2 separate regions of the Homo sapiens genome follow, and region 1 is linked to region 2. The links are contacts of gene promoters, found by promoter capture Hi-C in blood cells and fetal thymus (Javierre and others, 2016). All regions are on one chromosome and are shown on one strand. Each heading gives the region's core, a stretch centred on a gene start or on the middle of the fragment in contact. The rest is flanking DNA. Distances are from core to core; before and after follow the strand shown.

Evidence for each region. Contacts are between HindIII fragments. The CHiCAGO score rates a contact against its expected background, and 5 or more counts as called.
Region 1: a contact is called between the fragment with the promoter of MEX3D here and the fragment with the promoter of KLF16 in region 2, in 3 of 17 cell types (endothelial precursors, total B cells and naive CD4 T cells). The highest score is 5.9, in endothelial precursors.

Annotation. Positions count from the first base shown.
Region 1 is chr19:1,565,074-1,570,390 of GRCh38, reverse strand. MEX3D (mex-3 RNA binding family member D) reads left to right here and starts at 2,066. Exons shown (of 2, transcript NM_203304.4): 1 at 2,066-2,927. The coding sequence starts at 2,333. RefSeq lists silencers at 1,787-1,836, 1,877-2,066. The HindIII fragment of the contact is 12,069 bases long and covers 1-5,317 here.
Region 2 is chr19:1,861,416-1,866,678 of GRCh38, reverse strand. It overlaps KLF16 (KLF transcription factor 16), which reads left to right and starts at 3,100. Exons shown (of 2, transcript NM_031918.4): 1 at 3,100-3,638. The coding sequence starts at 3,182. RefSeq lists enhancers at 1,010-1,564, 4,672-5,263, silencers at 1,738-1,957, 2,028-3,127, 3,458-3,637, 3,688-3,857 and a promoter at 2,007-3,211. The HindIII fragment of the contact is 13,147 bases long and covers 1-5,263 here.

The DNA of each region.
Region 1 (5,317 bases), core at 817-3,316, 300 kb after region 2:
GCGGAGCTTGCAGTGAGCCAAGACTGCACCACTGCACTCCAACCTGGGTGACAGAGCGAGACTCCGTCTAAAAAAAAAAAAAGAAAGAAAGAAGGAAGGAAGGAAGGAAGGGAGAGAAAAGAAGAAATGAAGAACGAAATAAAGGATGAAAGAAAAGGAAGGAAGCAAGGAAGGAAGGAGAAGAAAGAAAAGAAAGAAGGAAAGAAAGACAGAAAAAAGAAAAGGAAGAGAAAGAAAAAAAGGAAAGAAAGAAAAGGAAAAGAAAAAAGAGAAAGAAAGGAAAGAGAAAGAAAGAAAAAGAAAAGAAAGAAAGGAAGAAAGAAAGAAAAAAAGGAAAGAAAGAGAAAAAAAGAAAGAGAGAAAGAAAGAGAGATAGAAAAACAATTCCAAGCATGGGCGTGCACGAAAGAGAAGTCCAGGACCCCAGGAGGGGAAGTGGGGCTGGATGCAGCCTGGGGTCAGGAGAGAGATTTTGGGTGGGGAAGGGCTCCAGGCAGGGGGATCCTGACCCTGCCTGCCTGGAAGAAGTGGGCAGAGAAGCCACCAAAAGTGAAGGGCCCAGCAGTGGGTGGCTGTGGCTGAGGGACTAGAAGAGTGGCTGAGGGGGACCCAGGGTGTGTGAGGCGGGGGGAGGGGACAGAGGAGAAGCCTTGCTAGGCAAAGGGGCAGGCTGCCCCACTCCTGCCCAGAGAGCCCTGCCTTCGGTCCAAGTTTGCACAGCCAGCCAGGGACAGGTCTGGTAGAAGAGGGGGGCAGGTAGACCCAGCCAGACAGGTTTATCACAAAAAACCCCACAGGTGCAAGGAAGGCCCCGAAGGACAGCTGGAGGAAGAGCCGCTGGGAAAGCGGCTATTTTTTTTTTTTTTTTTTTTTTTTGAGAGGAGTCTTGCTCTGTCAACCAGGCTGGAGTGCAGTGGTGCAATCTCGACTCACTGCAACCACCACCTCCAGGGTTCAAGCAATTATCCTGCCTCAGCTTCCTGAGTAGCTGGGATTACAGGTGCGCGCCACCACGCCTGGCTAATTTTTGTATTTTTAGTAGAGTCGGGGGTTTCACCATGTTGGCCAGGCTGGTCTCTAACTCCTGACCTCGTGATCCACCCGCCTCGGCCTCCCAAACTGCTGGGATGACAGGCATGAGCCACCGCGCCCGGCAAGGGTGGCTTTAGAGGTGGACAACGCCCGTTGCGGGGAAAGGCACCCCAGAAGAGGGTGGGGCTCCACATGGAGGGTTCTGGCTGGTGTGAGCCTGCCCTCGCCATGGAAGCACCACTGTGGTAGAGAGGTCTCTGGCTGGGGGCACAGAGACCGGGTCTGTGGCCTTGGGTGGGGCGGAGGAGGTGGCGTGGAGGAGGTGGCCTGATCCCAAAGCCGGGAGCCAGCCAGAGGGGAGCTAGGAGAGACTAGGGGAGAGGGACCTCAGGCCCTGGGGTGTGCATGATTGTGGAGCTGTCCCTGGCACAGAGGCTGGGGGTGGGGCAGGGGCCTGACCCTAAAGCCCACCTGATAGCAAGGGGTACTTGGGGACTGGGACCCCAGGCCCTGGGGGGTGCACCGTGGGGCGGGGGTTGGACCCTGGCACAGAGGCGGTGGGCGGGCAGGAGCCTGACTTCGAAGTCCAGTGGGATCGCGAGGGGGACTTGGAGAGGACCCCACGCCTTTATGCAGGGAGGTGGGGGTCCCTGGCACAAGGAAGCGGGCGTGGAGCAAGAGACCTCGCTTGGGGGCGACCCGGATCTCTAGGGGAAATTGGGGAGCGGGACCTCGGGCCCTGGGGCGCGCGAGGCAGGGACTCTCAGGCTTGGGGAGGGAGCGCTGTCCAGGCAGGGGCTGAGCCGCACACACCTGCAGCAGCGCCCGCACGTGCGGATGCGCCCGGGTTCCCGCCCGAGCGCCGGGCGGAGGCGGGGCCTGGACCACGTGCCCGGCGCCGGCCCCGCCCCGGCCCCGCCCCGCGCGCCTGCGCCCTGGGGGCCGCCCATTGTTGGGCCGCGGCGTGACGTCGCGGGGGCGGGGCCGGGGCGGGGCCGCGGGAGGCGGCGGGAGGGAAGGAGCGTCCCGCGCCGCCGCCGCCGCCTCGGCCGCCGAGGAGCCGCCGCCGCCGTCGCCGCCGCCGCCGAGCCGCAGCCAGAGTCGCTGCCGCCGCCCGGCCCGGCCCGGCCCGGCCCCGAGCAGCCCCGCGCCGCCGCCGCCCCGCCCGCCCGGCCCCCCGTGCCCGCCCCCGCCGCTGGATGCAGGCGGCCGGCGGCCCAGCTCGCAGAGGCGGAGGGCGGCGCGGGCGGCGGCGGCGGCGCGGGCGGCAGGAGCGCGGGCCCCAGCGCTAGCTCCCGCCATGCCCAGCTCGCTCGGCCAGCCCGACGGCGGCGGGGGCGGGGGCGGCGGCGGCGGCGGCGTGGGGGCGGCGGGGGAGGACCCCGGACCCGGACCTGCGCCCCCGCCCGAGGGCGCCCAGGAGGCCGCGCCCGCGCCCCGGCCGCCGCCCGAACCCGACGACGCGGCCGCCGCGCTCCGCCTGGCGCTGGACCAGCTGTCGGCGCTCGGGCTGGGGGGCGCTGGCGACACGGACGAGGAGGGGGCGGCCGGGGACGGCGCAGCGGCGGCGGGGGGCGCGGACGGCGGGGCGGCTCCGGAGCCTGTGCCCCCCGACGGACCTGAGGCCGGCGCGCCCCCGACCCTGGCCCCCGCCGTGGCCCCCGGGTCGCTGCCGCTGCTGGACCCCAACGCGAGTCCCCCGCCGCCGCCGCCGCCCCGGCCGTCGCCCCCCGACGTGTTCGCGGGCTTCGCGCCCCACCCCGCGGCCCTGGGGCCCCCGACGCTGCTGGCCGACCAGATGAGCGTGATCGGCAGCCGCAAGAAAAGCGTCAACATGACCGAGTGCGTCCCGGTGCCCAGCTCCGAGCACGTCGCCGAGATCGTGGGTCGCCAGGGTGAGTGGCCCTCGTCGGGGGTTGCTGTCCTGGGGGTCCCCGCACCGTCCGCCCCGGGGAAGGGGGTCGCCCGAGCCCAGCCCAGCCCGCGCCGGACGCCCCGCACCGGACACGCCCCGCGTGGGCTCCGGCCTCGGCCGCTGCCTTTGCGCCTTTGTCCTGCAGCCGCCGCGGGAGAAAGTTGGGCGCAGCCCGCGCTCCTCCCCTGCGCGCTCCGGCCCCGCCGCCGCCTTTGTCTGGGCCGCCTCCAGCCCGGAAAGGCTCCGGGGAGCCGCGCCGCAGCCCAGGCCCTCGGCCGCCCGCAGGGGCACCCCAGAGAGGGGCTCGAGGGCCCGGGGCTCCGGCCGGGCGGGGGGCGCCCCACACCCAGCACAGGCGGCGGGGCGGGGCAAGCGCAGGTTTAGGGGTGGCTTAGGGGGGCCGCCTGCAGGACCGGGAGAGAAGGCTGACAGTACAAAGAGCGCACGTCTCAGTCTCCAGCCTGGGGCCCTGACTGGGGTGGGGACGGGACCGGGCAGGAGAGGGTCCCTGCTCCACTCTCTGGCCCCGAGTCAGGGATTTCGGGGCCTGGGGAAGGACCGGCTGTCAAAGCCACTTCTGGGGTGCAGCCTGCTGGGCAGGCCGGCGGGCGGCAGGCCCCGGGTGTGGGGTCCAGCGGTGGCATCGTCGGAGCTTCCCTCTGGCCGCCCCATTGTTCTCTTTGTTAGAGAGCGAGGCTGAGATTTGCAGGGTGACATCAGGCCGGCCGCTGCTCATTGGCCCCCGAGCTGCGGGGCGGGCGGGCGGGTGGTGGGCAGTGCCTGGCCCAGCTCACACCCACCACCCCGTTAGCCACCCGCCCGCCTGCCTCCCTCAACTTTCTCCTGCCTTCCCGCCACCCCTCCCCGCTCCTGGGTCCCCGCTGACCGCCAGTGATCAGCCAGGTTCTAGAACTTGGGGTGGGGCCTTGGCGGGGCTGGTGGTGGGGCCGCAGGACACTTGGGCTGGGGGTCCCTGCCTCCCCGGGGCCCTCGGGAATCCAGGCCAGAGAAAGGTGTGGGGGGCTGGGATTGCAAGGTCATCTATGGCCCTGGCCTCAGGCGGGGGACCACCAGGGCGCCCTCCCCTCCGCCCTTTCCCTCGGTCCAGGTGGGTGGGGCACCACAGCCTCCTGTCTTTTGGTCGTTCATTTGTCCAGCTCATGTGGGGACCCACGGAGGGTCAGGCATGGTGCTGGCCCCAGGAAGCATGCTCTGGAGTGGTGGGTGGGGAGGGACTGGGTTCTGTCTCAGTCCTGCTGGCTGCCCTTGGTGGGACCCCCTGGCAGGAGGGCGCCCTACCATCCTGTTACTGCCTCCCCATTGAGGCCTTCCACCCGGCCTCCATGTCCCATACCCAGGGCCTAGAACGGGACAGCTGCCCTGTGCGGAGTGTCTGGGAGCCTGTGGAGACAGGCGTCCAAGCCGAGGCCTGGGGACCAAGTGACCAAAGGCACGAGCCTGAGCCTCCAGGTGGTGGAGGCTGTGGCTGTGTTCTTTGTGAACGCGCTTGTCCTGGCACCCAAGGGCCTTTGAGCGAGGCTATGGCCACATGGGGAGCTGGCAGGAATCAGCGTCAGGCTGAGAGCTTCTAGACCTGTGGCCTCAGGGTGGGAATTCTCTAGGGGCAGGTCCATGGGAAATGGAGTCTGTGGGCACCAGGCTCAGCCCCCACCTCTGGCCTGTGCGTTCTGCACCCACTTACTGGGCTCTTGCTGGTGGCCGTCAGCAAGGCAGGCCCTGGGGTACAGTGGGGGTCGGGGGTAGAGTGGGCCCTGATTGCTTGTCCTGCAGGCCGCCGTGGCCCTGCGCAGATGACGGCCCCTCTCTGTGATGTGCGGACGTCTCACCTCCATTAGGGTAGAGGATTCTGGGGCAAGATGCTGGTTTTATTTATTTATTTATGAGACGGAGTTTCGCTCTGTCGCCCAGGCTGGAGTGCAGTGACGTGATCTGGGCTCACTGCAAACTCCGCCTTCTGGTTTCAAGCAGTTCTCCTGCCTCAGCCTCCTGAGTAGCTGGGATTACAAGTGTGAGCCACCACGCTCAGCTGATTTTTGTATTTTTAGTAGAGACGGGGTTTCACCATGTTGTCCAGGCTGGTCTCGAACTCCCGACCTCAAGTGATCCGCCCACCTCCACCTCCCAAAGTGCTGAGATTACAGGCGTGAGCCACTGCGCACGGCCAGTTTTATTTATTTGTTTTTATTATAAAGTTTTTCTTGTAGAGACAGGGTCTTGCTCTGTTGCTCAGGCTGGTCTTGAACTCCTGGCCTCAAGCGATCCTCAGCCACCCAAAGTGCTGGGGTTCCTACAGGTGTGAGCCACTATGCCTGGACCCAAGTTGCTGGTTTTAATCCCAGCTCCAGGTCA
Region 2 (5,263 bases), core at 1,851-4,350:
TTAGCCTCCTGAGTAGCTGGGACTACAGGTGTGAGGCCACTGCGCCCGCTAATTTTTTTTTTTTTTGAGACAGTTTCTCTCTTGTCACCCAGGCTGGAGTGCAGTGGCACGATCTCGGCTCACTGCAACCTCCGCCTCCTGGGTTCAAGCGATTCTCCTACCCCAGCCTCCTGAGTAGCTGGGATTACAGGCATGCGCCACCAGGCCCGGCTAATTTTTTTTGTATTTTTAGTAGAGACGGGGTTTCTTCATATTGGTCAGGCTGGTCTCGAACTCTCGACCTCAGGTCATCCGCCTGCCTCGGCCTCCCAAAGTGCTGGGATTACAGGCGTGAGCCACCATGACTGGCCTCCAGCTAATTTTTTTTTTTGAGATGGAGTTTTTGCTCTTGTCGCCCAGGTTGAAGTACAATGTTCGATCTCAACTCACTGCAACCTCCACCTCCCAGATTCAAGCGATTCTCCTGCCTCAGCCTTCTGAGTAGCTGGGATTACAGGTGCCCACCACCTGGCCCGGCTAATTTTTTCTTGTATTTTTAGTAGAGACGGGATTTCACCACATTGGCCAGGCTAGTCTCGAACTCCTGACCTCAGGTGATCTGCCAGCCTTGGCCTCCCAAAGTGCTGGGATTACAGGCGTGAGCCACTGCACCCGGCCTGCAGCTCATTTTTTAATGTGGAGAGTTGGGGGTTTCATTACGTTGCCCCGGCTGGTCTTGAACTGATAGCTTCAAGTGATCCTCCTACCCTGGTCTCTCAAAGTGCTGGCATTCCAGGCGTGAGCCACCGCACCCGGTGGAGAATTTACAGGGTCATAGAGAGTAAGGAAGAGAGGACAGAGCCCTGTGCCGGGCGCTGCTGGAGGTTTGTCTGTGTTCACCGCAGGGGTCATGGGTTGCCTGAGTGTTCCTGGGGCTTAGGGGTGTGAATAGAAGCCTCATGGGTGGGGTGTGGGCTGTGTGCCCTCACCTGGGGTCTCCTGCCTGTGGAGTGGCTGGCATGACCTGCAGATGAGGCCACTCACTTGAAACCCTGATAATGGCTGGAGTGGGCAGACAATGGAGTCTCACAGTGAAGGTCCTGCCTGGGGCCATGTGGCCCACCCCTGGAGGCTGCTCACCCCTGCCCCCCATCGTTAGCCTCCCAGTTACAACTGTAAGCCCCTTGAGGGCAGGGCTGGTTGGTTCTGCTCTAAGCCCAGGAAACATCAGTGGAAGACGCATGGTTGGGTGTGGACCCTGAGGCCTCAAGACACACCTGTCCACAAGCCAATGCGGGGTTCCAGGACCCTGGGGGCTGCTGGGATGGTGGGGACCTGGGGGACCTGCCCAAGTGGCCCATCGTCCTAGAAGTTCAAAGACAACAGAGGCCCAGCAGGAGCAGGAACGCCGACCCCCAGCGCCCACCGAATGGTAGGGGTGCAGAGAGGGCTCTGGAGCCCAGGCCTAGGAGAGGGGCAAGTGTGTGCAGGGCACCCTGTACCCTCCCACACTTCGCTGAACCTCCTCTCTCTCGGCTCCGCTCTGTCCAGCCACGTAGAGTGGGCTTACTGGGGCCCAGGGAGGGCTCAGCTGGCTTAACCAAGCATGGTTGAGCCCAGGCGCAGTGCGGGCGACCCAGGGAACAGTGGTCAGCCTCAGGGCGTCAGCTGGGGTTGCAGGTGGGCGGGGGATGGGGCTAGAGAAGCCCCGAATCGGGTCAGGGCCTCTGTCCATGCCCAACCCAGAGCAGGAGGTCGCCGCAGGCCAAAGCAGCTCCGCCCCCTGGAGGCAGCTCCGGCCACTGCGCAGTCCCCGCCGCCCCGCCGGAGCTGGGAAGGGGCGGGAGCGCGGTCGCGACCGAGGGGGGCCGCCCAGTTTCTGTGCCCCCGCCGCCTTGGGCCTGCGAACTGGGCCATCCGCGTCCCTGGTGTCCCCCCTAATATTTAACAAGTTGGCCTGGACGTCCTCGCGGCCGGGAGGCCCGAATACCTGGCCTCAGTTTTCCCGTCCGAACCCCAAGAATCGATGCCTGGGAATGGAAAGAGAAGCCCCGGACCCCGGTGTCCCAGCAGGGCGGGGAACCTCTGACCCGCTCAGGCGCCCCCAGCCCAGCCCAGCCCTTTGCGTTCGGCCCCCTCTTCCCGTCCCCCTATCCCGACCCTCTGGGACCCAACCGGCCCTCCCCACCCCCAGTGGGGCGCGCTCTAGTAGCTCCGGAACTGGGTGCAAAAAGAGGAACGAACGCAGCCTTGCCCCACCCTCCCGGGCCCCGCCGCGGGCGCGGGATACCGGGTGTCTCGGCCGGGAGGCTCCGAGGGGCTCTGTGAGCGGCGAGGGGGAACCCCAGAGAAGAGGACGAGCAGATGCCTGAGTGCGGGGTCAAAGCAGGGCCCCAGGCCGGGAGAAGAGGGGGGAAGGGTCGCGCACGTGGCCTGGGGGCGGGGCCGGCCGCTTCCGCACCCCTCCAACCCCGGCCACGTGGGGATCGGAGCCCTCCTCCATCGCGAACGGGGGCGCGCCCGGGGCCAGGAGGGAAGCATCCGGGGAGGGGGCGGGCTCCCGCCGGCCGCGCGCCCCGGCGTGGGGTGGGCGCGCCAGCGAGGAGGCGGGGCGCGCTCTGGGAGGGAGGGGCGTGCCGGGATGGGGCGGGGCGCGCTCTCGGAAGGAGGGGCGTGCCGGAGAGGGGGCGGGGTCCTCGGCCTCCCGCCCCGGCTTGAGGGGGTGGTGCTCCGGGAAAGGGTACGGGGGCGCGCGCTGGAGTGGGGCGCGCCGGGAGGGGGCGGGGCTCCCGGCCTTGCACCCTAGCGCGGAGAAGGCGCGCTCCGGGCCTAAGACGCTAGGCGCTGGCGGAGGCCGGAGTGGGCGCGCCGGGGGGCGGGTTCCTCCGGCCCGAGCCCCGCCCCCGGCGGCCGCGCGCGGCTCGGAGAGTGGTGGAGGGCGCGCCGGGCGGGGGGCGTGGCTGCGGCGCCCCGAGGGGGCGTCCTCCGGGCGGGGCGGGCTGTGGCCGCCCCCGCGGGCTCCGGTGCGTCAGGACGCGTCAGGCGGGGCGGGGCAGGCCGAGCGCGGGCGTCGGCGGCGGCGCGCGCCGGGCCTCCTCCTCCTCCTCCTCCGCCTCCCGCACTCGAGCAGCCGCCGCCGGCCGGACGGACGCCGCTCCCGCCGCCTCCGCTCCGCCCGCCGCGCCGCGCGCCCTTGCTCGGCATGTCGGCGGCCGTGGCGTGCGTGGATTACTTCGCCGCCGACGTGCTCATGGCCATCTCTTCGGGCGCCGTGGTGCACCGCGGGCGGCCCGGCCCCGAGGGCGCGGGCCCCGCCGCCGGCCTGGATGTGCGCGCGGCGCGCCGCGAGGCCGCCTCACCCGGGACCCCGGGGCCACCCCCGCCGCCCCCCGCCGCTTCTGGCCCGGGCCCCGGCGCCGCCGCGGCGCCCCACCTGCTGGCCGCCAGCATCCTGGCCGACCTGCGCGGCGGACCCGGAGCCGCCCCGGGGGGCGCCTCGCCCGCCTCCTCCTCCTCAGCCGCCTCGTCCCCGTCCTCGGGCCGCGCCCCCGGCGCCGCGCCCTCCGCCGCCGCCAAGAGCCACCGCTGTCCCTTCCCGGACTGCGCCAAAGCCTACTACAAGTCCTCGCACCTAAAGTCGCACCTGCGGACGCACACAGGTGAGTGCAGCCGCGATCCCGGCCCTTGCGGGGGCGGCCGCCTGAGACCCCTCCCCCGCCAGGACCCCGAAACTGCGTGGCGCGTGGGGGGCGGGGAGGGGGGCGCGCCCGGGCCGCCGCCGCGCCGGCCGGCAGGGCGGGGCCTCGGTGGGTGGGGCGCGCGCGGGGGGCGTGGCGGCCACGCGGTCGGGCGGCGAGCGGATGGCCGCCCCGGCGGCAGTGGCGGGGGCTCCGGGGGCCCAGCGAGGTCTGCGGGCGGGATTGAGACTCCTGGGCAGACCACCTCTCTCCCTTTCTGGGCCTTGTTCCGTTTTTTTTTTTTTCTTTTGCGTTCTGGTCTGGGCGGTGGGCACCGTGGTTGGAGCATCCGGCTCTGGGGTTCTGGGTTCTCCCCCTCCCCCAGCCTCAGTTTCCTTATCTGTGAAAATGGAGGAGGAACCGCGTCGCCGCCGCCGGGGTGGCCGCGCGGATTCTCCCCAGAGGTCGGCAGAGCACCTGGCGTGGGGCCAGGATGGGGGGAGCCCGGCACGTTTTCTCTGCGTTCTCTGTATTTTAACGAGGGGGAGGGCGAGGCTAGGAGCGCGGGTTGGGGCCTGAGTCTGGGCGGGGGAACTTCATAGTATTGGAGGACCCTCGAGGGGCTCGGGTCCACACTGCTGTATTTCCCTGGCGTGTTTGTTCACCCCTACCTGGCGGGCGATTCGGGAAGGTGCGCGTAGTTGGAGCGCTTCGGCTACACCAACGCCCCTCCTAGCGCAGTCCCCGGGGCGGCGAGGGGAACCGGGAGCCTGGTGGGCCTGGCTGTATTTTTTCACTCCGTCCCCTCCTAGGGTTCCACTTTCTGGACTGGGAGTTTGGACTGGGCAACAGGGGACGGTGGGCCTTGATGGCCGGCCCTGGTTTGGGCATTAGAGGTGCTTGTCCCTTCCGGGGAGGGTGGGGGGCTGGGGGAAAGCTGTGCGGCTGCCCTTGGGCTTGGCATTCTGGCCTTGCCACCAAACAGAAGACCTCTACCCGATCTGGGTCTCAATTTTCTCATTTCTATCAAGAGTGCGATGCTGCCTCTATTTCATAGCCATAGCGGTGGCCGCTTTGGGCAGCTGGACACTCCAAGGAGGCTTGGTCCGTGGGCTCGGATTGTAGGGACACGTGGAGCAGCCGAAGGGAAGTGGGCCGTCCAGAGTGGTGGGGCTGAGATGAGCAGGGGCCGCGAATGCCTTGCGGAAGAATTGAGGGTCCATCTTTGGGGTATGGGGAGCCGCGCTGGGACGCCTGAGGGTGGAGAGCAGGAGGGCGGGTGGGGGCGGTGGTGTGTAGCCTGCCGGCCGCCCCCTCTCTGTTCTGCACTCTTTTCACCCCTCGCTCAGTCCCTGTCCTGGTCCCAGGGGCCTGGAGGCTCTGCCCACCTTGAGACACAGACGGGAACCGAGGGCGTCAAGACAGGACTTGGGTGGGGTCTGCGTTTTCTGCGAGGAGCCACACATCCTCGGCGGAGGGGTCCCAGGGTGTTACCTCTTTTTGAGGGCAATGGGGTCCGTGTATCTCCGCGGGGAGGGACATTGGGGGTCTGTGAAGATGGCGAGGCAGCGTTGGGAACAGAAAGGGAGGTGCCTCTCCGGGCGGTG